Regions from separate parts of the Homo sapiens genome. Here region 2 is linked to region 1. Evidence: promoter capture Hi-C in 16 types of primary human blood cells and fetal thymus (Javierre and others, 2016). All regions are on one chromosome and are shown on one strand. The core of a region is centred on a gene start or on the middle of the fragment in contact, and the rest is flanking DNA. Distances in the headings are between cores, read along the strand shown. Region 1 holds the start of PKD1L1 (polycystin 1 like 1, transient receptor potential channel interacting). Region 2 overlaps GRB10 (growth factor receptor bound protein 10).

What was found. Contacts are between HindIII fragments. The CHiCAGO score rates a contact against its expected background, and 5 or more counts as called.
Region 2: a fragment that was not itself captured here is called in contact with the fragment with the promoter of PKD1L1 in region 1 in 2 of 17 cell types (naive CD4 T cells and total CD4 T cells); the score reaches 7.0 in naive CD4 T cells.

The regions. Positions count from the first base shown.
Region 1 is chr7:47,947,155-47,949,854 of GRCh38, reverse strand. PKD1L1 (polycystin 1 like 1, transient receptor potential channel interacting) reads left to right here and starts at 1,389. Exons shown (of 57, transcript NM_138295.5): 1 at 1,389-1,458. The coding sequence starts at 1,415. The HindIII fragment of the contact is 5,981 bases long and covers 1-1,494 here.
Region 2 is chr7:50,683,392-50,686,091 of GRCh38, reverse strand. The region is part of intron 5 of GRB10 (growth factor receptor bound protein 10); the gene reads left to right. Among named protein-coding and RNA genes, the nearest start is that of GRB10, 98 kb to the left of the region's middle. The HindIII fragment of the contact is 3,820 bases long and covers 1-2,700 here.

The sequences.
Region 1 (2,700 bases), core at 140-2,639:
CAAAGTTCCAGAAAACACAGGATCCAAGGCCGGACACCCGTAGCTTGGTTCATCATTGTTCAAGGGGTCTGTGTTCCCATCTGAGAAAGAGCTTGTGCCTGAAAACGTTCCCACTCTTCTTGGTATCACTCTCTTCAGAGTGGAGAGAAAAAATATCTAGTGTTCTGAGTAAAACATTAAGTTTTCTAAAATCTCTGAAGGTTTAAATGTTGGTATAAAGAACTAAGACAACTAACAAGTGCTTTAAAAATATAAGAGAAAATGTTTCGTAATGGAGAGAACTCAGTCTGACCCGCCAGTTGCAAACAAGGAGAGGTGCAGGAGGTTCGGAACCAGATCATTCCTAGGTTCTGCCGTAAGACAGAGTGCGCCTAGTGTGTGCCTTGCCAGCCTTCCTTAGGAATGCTCTTCTGCTCTTGTGGAAGGTATCCTGTTCCCCAGTGCAGTTGTGGACAGTTACAGCTTTTTTTTTTTTTTTTTTTTTTTGAGACAGAGCCTCGCTCTGTTGCCCAGGCTGGAGTGTGGTGGCACGATCTCGGCTCACTGCAACCTCCGCCTCTCGGTTTCGAGCAATTCTCCTGCCTCAGCCTCCCGAGTAGCTGGGACTACAGGTGCGTGCCACCATGCCTGGCTAATTTTTGTATTTTTAGTAGAGACGGGGTTTCACTATGCTGGCCAGGCTGGTCTCGAGCTCCTGACCTCGTGATCCGCCCACCTCGACCTCCCAAAGTGTTGGGATTATAGGCGTGAGCCACCGCGCCCAGCCAACAGTTACAGCTTTTTATTCTCAGACTTCTCTCAGCTTCCATGTACAGTCTCTCCCTTGAGTAGTGATCTGTTTCAGGCAGCCACAAAGATCCCTACCTAAAACACACTTTTGTTTTGTTTTGTTTTGTTTCATTTTGTTTTTGAGGCAGAGTCTCACTCTATTGCACAGTGGTGCAATCTCGTCTCACTGCAACCTCCACCTCCTAGGTTCAAGCAATTCTCTCGCCTGAGCCTCCTGGGTAACTGGGATTACAGATGTGTGCCACCACACTTGGCTATTTTTGTATTTTTAGTAGAGACGGGGTTTCACCATATTGGCCAGGCTGGTCTCAAACTTCTGGCCTCAAGTGATCCACCCACCTTGGCCTCCCAAATTGCTGGGATTACAGACATGAGCCACCACGTCTGTCAAAAGCACACTTCTTAGGAAGGAATTTGTCTGACAGTGTTAGGAAAACAAAAGCTGTTTCTGCTTGGGAAAATGTTACTGGAGTTTGGATTTTTCCCTCTGTGTTTGATGTGTGTCCTGATAAGAGGTCACAAGTACAGAAGCTGGAAGCATTAAGCTCTATTTCTTTGTCTTCCAGAGGATGTAGGAAGAAGCTGGTCTGCTGACTGTCATACTTGTGACCAGCTTGCACAGGACATGGCCGAGGAGGCAGCCCAGAACATTTCTGATGACCAGGAAAGGTGAGTTATCACTGTTCTCAGAGGGTTTGGTAAGCTTGATTTTAAAGTATGCATTCAGAAATTTTCTTTCAAAAGTCATCACCTCTAGGATGTGGGCTCACTCTGGCACGAGTGGAGGCCCTGTACCAGGAGGGTGCATTTGGCCGGCGGGGTCAGTTCAGAGGTTGGAGTTGGTGTTGAGAATGGAGTTTTTTCCTGAAGGCTTTTGAGAAGACTCCTCCAAGCGGATGCCTTCAGCCATGAGAAGTGCTGATTGCTCTTCCTGCAAATGCAGGATACCTTCCAAGTTCGAGGACTTTCTGCTGCCTGGTAGTAGACAAAGTTAAGCTATCTGCTTGTCTGCTAGGTCCCTTGCATGGAGACCAGGAGAAACCTGGCACAGGAAGAGATCATGGGGTCTTGGCCCAGGGGTCTTATTTCTTTTTTTTTGAGACGGAGTCTCTCTCTGTTGCCCAGGCTCGAGTGCAGAGGTGCGATCTTGGCTCACTGCAAGCTCTGCCTCCTGGGTTCATGCCATTTATCCTGCCTCAGCCTCCCAAGTAGCTGGGACCACAGGCGCCCACCACCACGCCCGACTAATTTTTTGTATTTTTAGTAGAGACGGGGTTTCACTGTGTTAGCCAGGATGGTCTCGATCTCCTGACCTTGTGATCTGCCCGCCTTGGCCTCCCAAAGTACTGGGATTACAGGCATAAGCCACCGCACCCAGCCTCCATGGGTCTTATTTCTAAACCCTCTTCCCCATGCTCTGTGCGCGCCAGCACCCATGTGTTGTTGAGGCTGGGCAGCCTGTGTGCTCTGCTGTTGACTGTCTCATGGCAGTGTGACATGGTGCAAACCTCCATGCCCCCTTTCCTGGGCGTGAGGCCAGCAAGGTGACCTGCCTGTGGGATGTGGTAAGGACCCAGGTGGGTCACCGCTGTCCCCTGGCCTGGCATGATGGGAGCCTGTGCCTGCAGATCTTGCCCAGTGGGGTACCCCGCCACTGCAGGTCACTTTACCTCCTCACCCCCAGATTTCTCATCCTGAAAATCTGAGTACCCCTGTTGTCACATCTGTAAACTCCAGAGGGTCGTTATAAAAATCAGTATCCTTGATGAATGCTTGCTGTCAGCATTTCTGCCTTTGTTAGCTTACTGTCTTTGTGCCATCACCATCATTTTATCAAAGAAACCCAAAGCAAACCAGGATGAGAAAATGAGGCTGCACGTGTTGACGGGGTTGGTCACATTCATGCTTGGA
Region 2 (2,700 bases), core at 21-2,520, 2.7 Mb before region 1:
GACCCTAACAGGAACTCTGTTCGTTTTCTGAGCCCACCCCCGGAGACTGGGAATCAGAATGCCAGGTGCATCTCAGGAACTGGTTTTCCCACCCCAGAAGTTCCTAGGTGGCCCCATGCATCTGGCGGTTTGAGGGTTACAGCTCTAGATCATCTGCCCCTTAAGGCCCATCTGGAGTGTCCTGTTTTTCTGGTTACACTGCATTTCCATCCACATTCTGGAAAACCAGCTCCTCTCTCCTGGGCATTTCAGTTTTTGGAGAACTGCCATTTCTTGGAATCGCCTGGTACTGTTCTCCTAGAATGACTTTTCTCATCCTGATGCCTTAGAATTCAGGCTCTTTTTAGAGCTGAATGCCCTCTACTTGACTGTCTTGTCTGTAAACAGAGATCTCATTTTAAAACTCTTCTCTCTGCCAAGCAGTGTGCATAACCATCCTAGGAGAATTTCTGGCCTCTGGGATACTTTTATAAACTGGGAGCGTCATGAACTCTGCCAAGAAACTCTTCATCTGAGGACGCACACTGTACTCGACTCTGCACTTCCCTTGACTTCCCACTCATCCTTCACCTCTCTTGCAGAACGCTGGGGCTTGGGATCCCTCCTTCGGGCTCCAGTACCCCTTGCCCTTGGGTGCCCACTCTTTCCTACGGGATATGTCCACCCCCTCGTCTCTCCTTTAGTTGCCACTTAACTGAAGCAGGTTTTAGCTTCTTTGTGGAGGGAATTATTTTTCCAGAAGTAGTAAAAACAGTTTCCTGTCCTTTCTTGCTATGTTATATTTAGCCTTGTAAATCCTTTTCCAAAGATCGTTGCTTAAGACGTCACTGCATCGAGGTGGCAGGGATTTGTCTCTGTTTTGTTAACATCTGTATTTCCAATACCTGAAGTGATGTAGTTAGTGTTCAGCAAATATTTGTTGAATGAAGAAAAATATCGGGTAAATGAATGGATTTTAAATTTATGGAGTTAAATCCACAGAATCATAGAGTGTTAACATTGGATGTGATGGTAAAGATTCCCCGGTGTCTAATTTACCTTTAAAAAATGGACTTTCTGAGAGAGCACAGTGCTAGTGAGTGACAGAAATTTGGACCATAACCTGGATTTTCCCTCTTCAGTTCCAGTGTTCTCGGGCTAATATTTTTAGGGTTCATGGAAAATGAGAACCTTCCAGAATGACAAGTTATTTATATAGTTTCTTGTACTTCTGCTTCTCCGTGACTTGTGATGTAATAGAAGAGTTAGGAATTGAAATAAAAAGCCTGAGAGGAAACAGATCAAATGGCTAAGGAAGACTTGGGAAAGATACAGTTAATCCTTTGCTCTTTTTGAGTAATATTTTGTGGGTATGTTTCTCTGTCACTCCCGAAGTGTCTTTTGAGTAGTACAGATAGAAATTGCTTAGCTGAATCTGTGCATATTAAATGCAGTTTTAGCTTAGGTTTTTGGTTCTTGCTGGGCAGGCTGTAATGTTTTGGTAGTGGAAAATTTGTTTTCCTGTGTTGTATAGGCTCTATGGTGCAGAGTCCAGGCAGTCATAAAGGGCCTGACGGGATCTTAGTAATGCCCAGGTGCTTCCTTGCAGCAGTGTAGCAGGATGAAACCAAGGAAAAGGAAACTTTACATGCTTTTCTAGGGGATGCTCACTGAACATTGGATGCCAGGTCTTTGATGAAATCGCTAAGATGAATTGCTTTCCTTATTTTTTTTAAATATAATTATTGTACAACTCCCTAAACCACAATTAAAAAAAAAATCTCACTGGAATCAAAGTACAGAGTGATTAATTATTACCTTACCTTTTTTTTTTTTTTTTTTTTTGGTGATGATTGAGTTGCAGTTGTCTGGCCGCCAGGCTATCTGCATTTGATTCTGAAGTTTGTCCTAGACTTTAGCCTTTGCTACCAGTTGTCCTGGGGAAATGGGTGAGGGGCTGTTGGCCCAGCTGTGTGTAAAAGGAGATAGACTTTCTACATTTTTATAAGTTTAATTTAATGAGCCTCCACTGGCGGCGGCACTTTGCATGTGTCATTAAAGATAAACAGTTTTTTAAAATCCCACCTGCCATGTTCTGCAGGATTGGTGGGGAAGCATACACATTTATACTGAAAATTCTTATTTTTCTAGGAAGAGGAATCTATGTTTAGTGTAACTTAGGAAATGACTAGCCTTGTCCTGGTCCTTTAACAAGCCAATCTGCTTGGCATCACCTGGAGGGTAACCTGGGAACAATTCAATTTAAAAACTGCGTTTGTTTTTTAATTATTATTTTTAATTGTGGTAAAATATACCTAACACAATTTACCACCCTTACCATTATTTTTTATTTTTTGTTTTTTATTTATTTTTTTTGAGATGGAGTCTCGCTCTGTCACCCAGGCTGGAATGCAGTGGCATGATCTCAGCTCACTGCAATGTCCACCTCCCGGGTTCAAGCGATTCTCCTGCCTCAGGCTCTTGAATAGCTGGGATTACAGGTGCACACCACCACACCTGGCTAATTTTTGTATTTTTAATAGAGACAGGGTTTCGCCATGTTGATCAGGCTGGTCTCGAACTCCTGACCTCAGGTGATCCACCCGCCACGGCCTCCCAAAGTGCTGGGATTACAGGCGTGAGCCACTGCTCCCAGCCCATCCTTACCATTTTTAAATGCACATTTCAATGGCATTAAGAACGTTCACATGGTTGCACAAC